Regions from separate parts of the Homo sapiens genome. Here region 1 is linked to region 2. Evidence: promoter capture Hi-C in 16 types of primary human blood cells and fetal thymus (Javierre and others, 2016). All regions are on one chromosome and are shown on one strand. The core of a region is centred on a gene start or on the middle of the fragment in contact, and the rest is flanking DNA. Distances in the headings are between cores, read along the strand shown. Region 1 overlaps COPZ1 (coat protein complex I subunit zeta 1). Region 2 holds the start of SCAT2 (S-phase cancer associated transcript 2).

Region 1 (5,358 bases), core at 2,515-5,014, 77 kb before region 2:
TCTTCTCCAGTGATCCATTCAGAATGTATGGTTTCAACATGACCCAGGTTGTTAGCTAATTGGCTCAAACTCAGTCAGGTATGGACCCTTCATAGAAGAAGCAAGTATCCCCCTGCAGTCTTGACCATACCTCAGAAATCCATCTTAAAAAACACTACTCAGGGAAAGGTATTAAAACATATATGATGTTTCCTAATGGATGCAAAAGATTAATCTAGGAAAACTTCCTTTCTAGGCGATTCATTTGCCGGGCCATGTTTGTGAGGCTGGTGGGATCTCTGACAACTTCATTAGCTTGGTCAGAAGCCAGAGGAACACGGCTCTATTAGGGCCCCAAACCAGTGGCTATGTACTGCCTGTGGTTTAGAAAGTAGGATCAGAAATAGCAAAGAGGGGTGGGGATTCTCACCTCATTTTCATAGGAGCTGCCAATCACATAGAAATAGAGATCTATACTGCTTTTGTATACCACTGTCAGGCCTTCCAAGAGGGCAATTTCACCTGGTGGGGGAAAAAAAGTAAAAATAGTGGGTGGCTTGAGATAAGGAAGTAGGAAAGAAGGAGTTACCAGCCAGGCGCAGTGGCTCATGCCTGTAATCCCAGCACCTTGGGAAGCCGAGCCTGGCGGATCACCTAAGGTCAGGAGTTCAAGACCAGCCTGGCCAACACAGTGAAACCCCGTCTCTACTAAAAATACAAAAATTAGCCGGGCGTGGTGGTGTGCACCTGTAATCCCTGCTACTCAGGAGGGTGAGATGGGAGAACCACTTGAACCTGGGAGGCGGAGGTTGCAGGGAGCCGAGATCTCGCCACTGTACTCCAGCCTGGGTGACAGAGAGAGACTCTGTCTCAAAAAAAAAAAAAAAAAAAAAGAAGGCGTTACCATGAATTCCTAGTATCCAGCTCTTTTGGGCTAAGGTGAGGCCGCCTGTAATGACTTCCAAAGCCAGAAGATGATCTGCACTTTTTGGGTGGTGGCAGGAGAAGAGAAGTATGAACTTGGGGGAGTCTAAATGTATCTTCTGTAACCACCATCCTCTGTTCCTGCCCACTATACCTATTTCCCTACTTGTATATGAGACAGGATACTAGTCGATCCTTCGGAGGTGAAAATGCAGAGCGGTCACCTTTACAGACTTCCATTTACCTGCCCTAATGGATGCGGTACAATAAGCAGAGCTGCAATTAAATTTGTCAAGTGAGGCTCATAAATCCAGGGACTAGACAGGTAGCTAACAGCCAACCTTCCAGCATGGTATTCCCGCGTGAGGTACACTCACCTCCCCATTACATTCTGAAGAGTTTATTATACAAGGGGAAGAAGGAAAAAAAAAGAAAAAGGCAGAGTCATTTCATCCTTTCTCTGCAGCCCTGTTACCACCCCCTTTCCACCATGGTTCCCCCCAGCACGGGTAGTAGTGAAAGGAAAATGACCTACTGTCAGTCCGATGGGTCTTGTTGAAAATGTTCTTCTCAAAGGCCTTTTGCTCCTTGACACTGGGGTAGGTGTCGTCATAGTACTGGTCAGAGGGAAAGAAGACAGGGTTGGGTCACTAGAGCTGGAAGCCAGAATGATTAGTGACTATGTTTTGCCCTGGGATCTTGGATTTCTCTCCTTCAAGGCATGGGGCAAGGGAGAAATACTGACATGGAAAAGGAAGGATTGTAGAGGCAGAGAATGGGCAGTGAGTAATCCAAGAAAAATAAATAAAAGACCCTGCCATAAGCAACCCCACCTCACATTTCCAAGACTGTCTGAAGGCAGAAGCCTACCAGCCCTACAGTGAGGCTCTGCAGCTGTCTGCAATCTAGACCTCTCCTAAAACCATTCTCATCAAGTGTTTCCTAGGAGCTACCCCATGTCAGGAAGCAGTGCCAGAGAACACAAAAAACACTAGAAGCACAGAACACTTCCATAGACCCTCACTCACTGTATGAAGCTGAGGAATGGGGAAAGGCTACAAAAACCTCCTCCAAAGAAAGGCAAACCCTGCCCTATGATCTATCTTAGCTTTCTTTTCTGCAAGCTGAAAGAAGCATCCAGCATACCACTGAGCCCATTCCCAGGCTCTCCCTGGCAAAGGGGGCGGAGATGCAGGCTGCTAAATCGCTAGCTCTTTAGGGGCTAATCCGTCGCAGTCAGCTGAAGACCCATGACAGGTCTGGCATTTAGTAACTGGATAACTGTTTCAAAAGGTGTCCTGCATAGTTACATCCAATTACAGGGAGGAACAGCTGGTGAATTCTAAACTAATCTCTACCTGCTGATTGATTTATGCTACGCTCGCCCGGAGTTAATACACCAGGGACAGAAGAAATTTCTACAGGAGGGGGAGAATATGGAGGGAGAGAGGGTGTCCTTTCTTCTTTCTTCCAACAGATCTAAAGTTGGAAACATCACTCTGGGAAAGTCAGGAGGTAACAAGCTTGATGGTGACTATAAACCTAGGAATGGAAACCTGGAACTGCAAGACAATTCTCTGGAAAAACCCAGGCAGGGTGACATGGTATGAGGGAAGGGGACAGGAATGATGGACATGGGCGGACTGCCTCTTAGCATCTACATACTGCTTTGTTAGGAACCAAAGTTTCAAAGCTTTTCCCTGATCTGATGCTGACAACAAAGGAGGTCAAAGTCTGAGGACAGCAAGCAGGGCAGCAGTACAACTAAGGGACAAAAGAAAACAGGTTTTATCTGGAGTAGGCAAGATAAGATGGAAGAATTCAGGCCGGGTGTGGTGGCTCACACCTGTAATCCCAACACTTTGGGAGGCCAAGGCGGGCGAATCATGAGGTCAGGAGTTTGAGACCAGTCTGGCCAACCTGCTGAAACCCTGTCTCTACTAAAGATACAAAAAATTAGCCGGGGGTGGTAGCGCGTGCCTGTAATCCCAGCTACTTGGGAGGCTGAGGCTGCAGTGAGCCAAGGTCACGCCATTGCACTCCAGCCTGGGTGATAAGAGCGAAACTCCATCTCAAAAAAAAAAGATGGAAGTATTCTCAAAATTATACTACTGAGGAACATAAGTTAATAAGGTATCAGTCCCAAGATTCAAATCTCAGAATAAACCTTTGTGCTGTTCCTAAACTAATTCGAAAGGGAATCTCACCTTGGCAAAAAGTCGATCTCCATCATTGTCCAGAATCAGGATGGCTTTGACAGTATACAGGGAAGGTTCCTGAAGAGATACGAACATACCTTCAGTCCTGAAGCCTCCCATCACCACTGGTAAACCAGATACCTTCCCCTAGTCCCACTGGGGCTGCAAGGGGATACAGAGGTACCTCTGTAAGTCCCTTACCTCAACTTGGTCAGATTTTGATATTTCCCATTGAGAAAGACCCAGGGTAAGTAAACTGAATTGACAGAGAAAGCATTTAAACAAAGGATTCCAAAGTACCATCAGAGAAACAGTTTCTCTGACTCACAGGGGGCTTAATCAAGAGAGGTCATGCTGTTATTTCCAAATATTATGGTACAGTTATTTTCCAAATTACCCTCTCCCTTCCTGCTCTCCCATGTACAGGTGGCTATAGAATGTGACCAGATTAATTAAAAGGCACTGAACAAAGCCATTTGAAAATAGGGTTGAATGTCCTAGTATACTTGGAAGTTTCTGCAGTCCGAATGCAGTAGCAATGCAGAAGCATAAAGCAAGCCTTCCCTAAACCACCCACACACTAAGCAGAGGGAAAAGAGCGTTTACACACACACACACACACACACACACACACACACACACACGCACAGGCACACCAGTTCTCAATGCAGCCTAGTAAAACAGCCATCTTCAAAAACTCTCCTATGTTCTCCAATTCTTCCACTATACCTTAACCACTACCACTTAACTTCCAAGGACAAAAGCCAACCTGAATTTTGGGGGAGTTAAGAAGCAGTGAGAAGATGATCTATCTGAGAAACACTCTGGGGCCTAGAGTGAGTGAGCAAGAGGGTAATTTTTTTTCCACTACCAAGAATCAAATAAGGAATCACGGCCTCAGTCTTAATGGTTCTTCTTCAACTGTAAGTATATCACTTGCAAAACCTGTGGTGGTCTGTTGCTCTCCTCTACCACTGCAACTTCAAGGGAGCCAGCTAACTAGGAGAAGGAAAATCGCAGGAGGCTGAGGCAGGAGGATTGCTTAAGGCCAGTTCAAGACCAGCCTGGGAAACACAGGGAGACCCCCCATCTCTACAAAAATAAAAAAAATTAGCCAGGTGTGGTGGCGTGCATCTATAGTCCTAGCTACTCAGGAGGCTGAGGTGATAGGATCTCTTGAGCCCAGGAGTTTAAGACCACGCTGAGCTAGGACTGCGCCACTGCACTCCAGGCTGGGTGACAGAGTGAAACCCCATCTCTAATTGATTGAATAGAAAAAACCAAAAGTGTGGAGAGATAGTGATGTGTGCATGAAAGGTATTTGCAGCCTCACATTCCTTGACTTTCTTTTTTTTTTTTTTTTTTTTAAGAGAAAAGGTGTCACTGTATTGTTCAGGCTGGTCTTGAACTCCTAGGCTCAAACAATCCTCCCACCTAGGCCTCCCAAAGTGCAAGTGTGAGCCACTGCGCCCGACCTACATTCCTTGACTTTCTAATCAACATTACTTACCATTGATATCCCTTGTGCTGAGACAAGGCTGTTGCTTTGCTACCTCTTTCCTGGCCTTATTTAAGAAACCCACAGTCCTCACAGGAGCCAAACACAAAAGTATGTGTTTGACAGATATCCAAGAGTGAGGAGGAAAAAATCATTGCCAAGAACCCAGAAACTGCAGCCTCTACAAACATAAATTGCCTCATGAGGCTTCAGGAGGTTTATGGTTCCATGCAAAGAATCAACCCTGTTTGCGGGGGCAGAGGAGGGCAGTTCAGAATGGAAGTAAAAGGAACCCAGTCTTTTGACAACAAGGTGATGAGGAACATAAGCTTTCCCTACTTGAATTCTTGAGGACTGCAATTTTTGTTTTGTTCGCTGGTTTGTCCCATTTGTCCAGAACAATGCCTGACACATACTAAACTCTCAATATTTGGTGAATAATTCAGAGAATAAAGGAAGTTTGAGAATAAAGTTAAAATACCTTGACGCAGTATGCATCTAAGGGACTACTTATAATTAGACCTCCACATATAAGTGGATTTTCTGATGTGGCCACTTTGGGTGATATTACTACCAACTTTATCCCTCCTCTGATAAACACTCCTTAGAGATGTCCATCCTGTATATATAACACTCTGGAATAAACAAGGCATGAGTAACTCCTCTCTCAAACTAAAGAACTTTGTTGCCTAGTGGAGGGAAGTCCTCTAGAGTCTAGTCTTAAAAGGTCACAAGTAGAAGCAGCTCTCCTAACTCCTA
Region 2 (5,550 bases), core at 2,941-5,440:
TAAGAGGGTGAAAAAAAATCCAATATAAAATGATGAGATATCAAGCAAGAATTTTTGTGTTATTGCTAAATACACCAGTTTACCAGACTGATACCTTCAAGCAGTTCTGAAAATTGAGTCTTGTAGCCCACATTCATTTGTAATATATTGGTAATCAGAGCCTGGGGGACATACAACCAAATGGAATTTATAGGGCAGCCTTTATCGTCATTTAGAATGTGTATATATACAATTATTATTTTAAATATTGCGGAGGTCTCACTATGTTTGTTCATGCTGGTCTTGAACTCTGGGCCTAAGCTGTCCTCCTGCCTCAACCTCCCAAATTGTTGGGATTATAGGTGTAAGCCATGGCACCCAGCCAAGTATATGTTTTTATATTTATTTTTTTATTTTTTATTTTTTTTGAGATGAAGTCTCGCTCTGTCGCCCAGGCTGGAGTGCAGTGGTGCCATCTCAGCTCACTGCAACCTCTACTTCCCAGGTTCCAGCAATTCTCCTGCCTCAGCCTCCTGAGTAGCTGGGATTTCAGATGCCCACCACCATGCCTGGCTAATTTTTGTATTTTTAGTAGAGACGTGGTTTCGCCATGTTGGCCAGGCTGGTCTTGAACTCCTAACCTCAGGTGATCTGCCTCTCAAAGTGCTGGGATTACAGGGTGAGCCACCGCACGCAGCCGTTTTTATCTAAAAGAACAAAAGGCCCTTTACTCCCTTGCTCACTGTAGTAGGAGGTTTCGCCTGGTTTTTTTTTTTTTTAAGACAGAGTCTGCCTCTGTTGCCCAGGCTGGAGTGCAGTGGCACCATCTCCGCTCACTGCAACCTCCACCTCCCAGGTTCAAGCGCTTCTCCTGCCTAAGCCTCCTGAGTAGCTGGGATTATAGACGTGCACCGCCTTACCTGGCTAATTTTTGTATTTTTAGTAAAGATGGGGTTTCACCATGTTGGCCACGCTGGTCTTGAACTCCTGACGTCAAGTGATCGATCTGCCTGCCTCAGCCTCCCAAAGTGCTGGGATTACAGCCGTGAGCCGTTGTGCCCAGCCTCTTGGCCTGATTTTTAAAGGATCATGAACTAGAGCTGTGCTAGCCAATGGGAGAACATTTCTTGCCTCCATGCTCTCTTCTTTTAATAAAGTTTGTGTTGTCTATATGTGGCTCGTTAATGATAGGGGTGTTAACGACCATAGTTAATCTTTCTCTTCAACTCTTTCCTAATCTAGTCTCTTAAACAGACATTTAAAAAGCTTTTAACTCCTCTTGAATTGTGTGCTCATGGGCTTTTGGTGGAGGTGGAGTGATAGTTATCAGCCCATTTAACAAAACCTGAGACAGCCAGGACAGCTGTAATGTGCATCTCTATGCTGTGTTTTTGTTAAAATGCCACATGGCTAATACTTTGGAAATCATAAATCCACTGCAAGAAAACATCTTTATAGGGGATATTTTAGTTTTATGCTGTTTGTGTTACACACCTAAAACCATCAGTACTTCAAGCTCCATAAAGAGCAAGGAACATAGAGCAGATTAAAATGTTTCTGTAAGTTTGGTTTATTTTCATCTGTTTTATTTGCTGCAATAAGGCTATATAGAGGATGCTTTGAAGACAGTGCTGTAGCTGACAATTTAATCTTCACCTAAGCCACTCTCTCCCTAAGGGCCTTAAGGAGAAGTGGGAATCGTGCAAGTCTGGGCCAACTGCAACCACTCATCAATGGCATATCTAATTAATCCATGTGATAGGGAGCTTTGCATATGCGCTCTCCTCTGCTCTTTAACCCTGGCTTACTTCCTAAAGGATTTTGCTTAGTTAGGGGGCTTATAGAATTTATGTTGAAACTCTACAATGGAGAGCTCATTGATTATGCATCTTGACATTTGGTTTGATTACCATCTTTAATTCAGTGGGTAGTTCAGTGAGGCAGCTTACCAATTGGCTTTCTTTTTCTTTTTTTTTTTCTTTGAGATGGAGTTTCACTCTTGTCTCCCAGGCTAGAGTGCAGTGGCGCAATCTTGGCTCACTGCAACCTCTACCTCCCAGATTCAAGCGATTCTCCTACCTCAGCCTCCCCAGTAGCTGGGATTACAGGCACCTGCCACCACACCTGGCTAATTTTTGTATTTTTAGTAGAGATGGGGTTTCGCCATGTTGGCCAGCCTGGTCTCAAACTCCCGACCTCAGGTGATCCACCCACCTTGGCCTCCCAAAGTGCTGGGATTACAGGCATGAGCCACTGCGCCCGGCTGGCTTTCATTCTTAATAAGAAGAAAGCTTAGTGAAAGATCTAGAATTATGTGTACTTTTGCTCATAAGTGGTGATGAAAATGAAATGACTATAACAAGATAAGAAAAGCCACCAGAATTGGTATTGAGAAGTAGTGACTGCTTTGTGGGGGTAAGGCAGGAGGATTGCTTCAGCCCAGAAGTTTGAGACCAGCTTGGGCAACACAGTGAGACTGCATCTCACCAAAAAATAAAAAAATGTAGCCAGGCATGGTGGCGTGCCCCTGTGGTCCCAGCTGCTCAGAAGGCCAAGGTGAGAGGATTGCTTGAGCCCAGGAGTTTGAGACTGCAATAAACTGTCCGCACCACTGCACTGCAGCCTGAACAACAGAACGAGGCCCTGTCTCAAAAAAGAAATGACTGGAGGGATGAGAGTAGAACCTGAACTGGACAAAGCAGACAGATACCAGGGACCCTATGTGGGTTCTTCCAGCATTAAACGGTCAATGCTGAGGGCTAACCATTACCTCTTTTTTATTTGAGACGGAGTCTCACGCTGTCTCCCAGGCTGGAGTGCAGTGGTGCGATCTCGGCTCACTGCAAGCCCCGCCTCCTGGGTTCACACCATTCTTTTGCCTCAGCCTCCCCAGTAGCTGGGACTACAGGCTCCCGCCACCACATCTGGCTAATTTTTTGTATTTTTAGTAGAGACAGGGTTTCACCATGTTAGCCAGGATGGTCTCAATCTCCTGACCTCGTGAGCCACTGCGCCTGGCCTTTTTTTTTCTTTTTTCTTTTCTTTTTTTTTTTTTTTTTTTTTGAGATAGAGTCTTACCCTGTTGCCCAGGCTGGAGTGCAGTGGCGCGATCTCAGCTCACTGCAACCTCCGCCTCCCGTTTAAGCGATTCTCCTGCCTCACCCTCCTGAGTAGCTGGGATTACAGGTGCGTAACTGCCTCAGCCTCCCGAGTAGCTGGGATTACACCACGCCTGACTAATTTTTTTGTGTCTTTAGTAGAGACGGGGTTTCACCATGTTGGCCAGGCTGGTCTCAAACTCCTGACCTCATGATCCACCTGCCTTGGCTTCCCAAAGTGCTGGGATTACAGGCGAGAGCCGCTGTGCCGGCCTACCTCTTGTTTTTCTGGGTTGCCCTAGCTTGCTTGTGATGCCCTCTCTGTAATTGCTGAGGACTGATAAGTTTTTTGTTTGGTTTTTTTTTGAGACGGAGTTTTGCCCTTGTTGTCCAGGCTGGAGTGCAATGGCTTGATCTCGGCTCACTGCAACCTCCATCTTCTGGGTTCAAGTGATTCTCCTGCCTCAGCCTCCCAAGTAGCTGAGATAACAGGTGCCTGCCACCACACCTGGCTAATTTTTGTATTTTTAGTAGAGACAGGGTTTCACCATGTTGGCCAGGTTGGTCTGGAACTCCTGACCTCAGGAGATCTGCCCGCCTCGGCCTACCAAAGTGCTGGGATTACAGGCGTGAGCCACCGCGCCCAGCCTCTTTTCTCATCTCAATGGGCCTTAGGTGCTGTAATCTATAGTTATTGGTAGCTTTACCAGATAGTTCCTATGTATATTTAAGAGAGAAGGCTGAGAGCTGTTATGCCTGAAAGACTCCAGAAATTTGAGAAGCTACTCACCCTTTCCCTTGGAGATTTCCACAAGGATAAGGTTGTGTTCAGAGGCTCATCTTCTTTTCCTCTGTCATGGTATTGGGATTCTATCTTAATCACTCCATCATCCTGCCAGCCATGTCTCATTTCTCATGCTGGAAAGCTCCCTCCTCCTAAGCTCAGTGTGAACCACCAGTCTTGATGCTTTATCTGGTCTAGGCTCTAGCCCTTAAATTGTTTGACTGGCTTTGTGTTTCATTTGACCCTAATACTCCGGGTCACACTGTCTAAAAGAGAATTATGTCCCCTCCGATGTCTGAGTGCATTTCTCATTTCTTACTGCTGCTCCTGAGCAGATCTGTAACTTCAAGGTTAAGATAAGACACATTCCATCAGAACTATGTCGTCATCCTTGCCAGCTTCTGATCTGTGACTGTCTAGGAGATTTACAAGACAATTGCATGCCATCCTTTAAAGAATATTATGGTTGTACTCTGACTCCTGGCATCAGGCCCAATTCGATTTGTCAGTGGTTACAAAACCCATTTCCCAAAAAGAAAAGGACCTCGGCCCATGTGCCCTTTAGGCAGTTCTTAAGGGTGGAAAGGAGGGAATTGAACTCAATCTTTATTTTCTGATGTTTTGTGGGGAGGGGTGGACACCAGAATATTTTTGTCTCTTTCCTCATTAAATTCACTTTTCTTTCTCTGAAAGGTTTCACCAAAATGTTAGTATTGCTGTCATTCTCTCCTGTTCCTTATTCCTTCACAGAGTTACTATTAGTCTTTTCATTCTGCCATCTTTAAAGTTTGTCTGAGTTTTAAGGAATAAGTATTTTGCCCTTGAGAGAGAACGTACCTACCCTGTTCTCTGAAGGTTTATTCGTTTTCCAGTGCCTAGTTAACAAAGACACTGTTCCTCTTTTTCTTGCTATCTACTAATGTGTTGAGCTGCAGGAGTTACTGCATGTGATATGGTTTACTAGCTTAGGAATTTGGAAGGTCACATATTTTCTTCTGCTGTTGTATTCAGCCCTGACATATTTTTACAGAAGGTTCTTTTTGGGGGACTTAATAGATCTTTGGTTTCAACATAAACTCACTTTTTCCCTCGGAGGTACGTAGGGCAGGTAGTACAGATTTATTTAGCCCGTTTAAATGATGCCGGGGTTAGATGGAAAATTTATTTACTCAGGATAACACATGGCAAGTTAATCAGAGTCAGGATCCTATTTAAATGTTTGTTATTGTTTTTATATCCCTTAATTATGAAAAGTTAAAAGGTAAGAGTTGAAAAATGCCGTTTTTAATTGGAGGTTTGCTGATGGTCCATTCAAATCTGAGGAAATCTTTTGTAATTAAAAAATTTCTGGCCGGGTGCAGTGTCTCATGCCTGTAATCCCAGCACTTTGGGAGGCCCAGGTGGGCGGATCACAAGATGAGGAAATCGAGACCATCCTGGCCAACATGATGAAACCCCATCTCTGCTAAAAATACAAAAATTAGCTGGGCGTGGTGGCACATGCCTGTAATCCCAGCTACTTGGGAGGCTGAGGCAGGAGAATCCCTTGAACCAGGGAGTTGGAGGTTGCAGTAAGCCGAGATGGCGCCACAGCACTCTAGCCTGGTGACAGAGCGAGACTCCGTCTCAAAAAAAAAAAAGAAAAAAGAAAAAAATTTCTACTTTGGTCTTACACCCTATGGTTTCTTC

The links. The method cuts DNA at HindIII sites, captures the fragments that hold promoters and counts their contacts. A CHiCAGO score of 5 or more calls a contact.
Region 1: a contact is called between a fragment that was not itself captured here and the fragment with the promoter of SCAT2 in region 2, in 3 of 17 cell types (erythroblasts, neutrophils and megakaryocytes). The highest score is 8.3, in erythroblasts.

What each region holds. Positions count from the first base shown.
Region 1 is chr12:54,338,368-54,343,725 of GRCh38, reverse strand. COPZ1 (coat protein complex I subunit zeta 1) reads right to left here. Exons shown (of 9, transcript NM_016057.3): 2 at 3,111-3,179; 3 at 1,439-1,520; 4 at 410-501. Among named protein-coding and RNA genes, the nearest start is that of MIR148B, 3.8 kb to the right of the region's middle. The HindIII fragment of the contact is 2,332 bases long and covers 2,599-4,930 here.
Region 2 is chr12:54,261,255-54,266,804 of GRCh38, reverse strand. SCAT2 (S-phase cancer associated transcript 2) reads right to left here and starts at 4,190. Exons shown (of 2, transcript NR_157844.1): 1 at 3,868-4,190. The region is part of intron 1 of CBX5 (chromobox 5); the gene reads left to right. The HindIII fragment of the contact is 3,994 bases long and covers 2,273-5,550 here.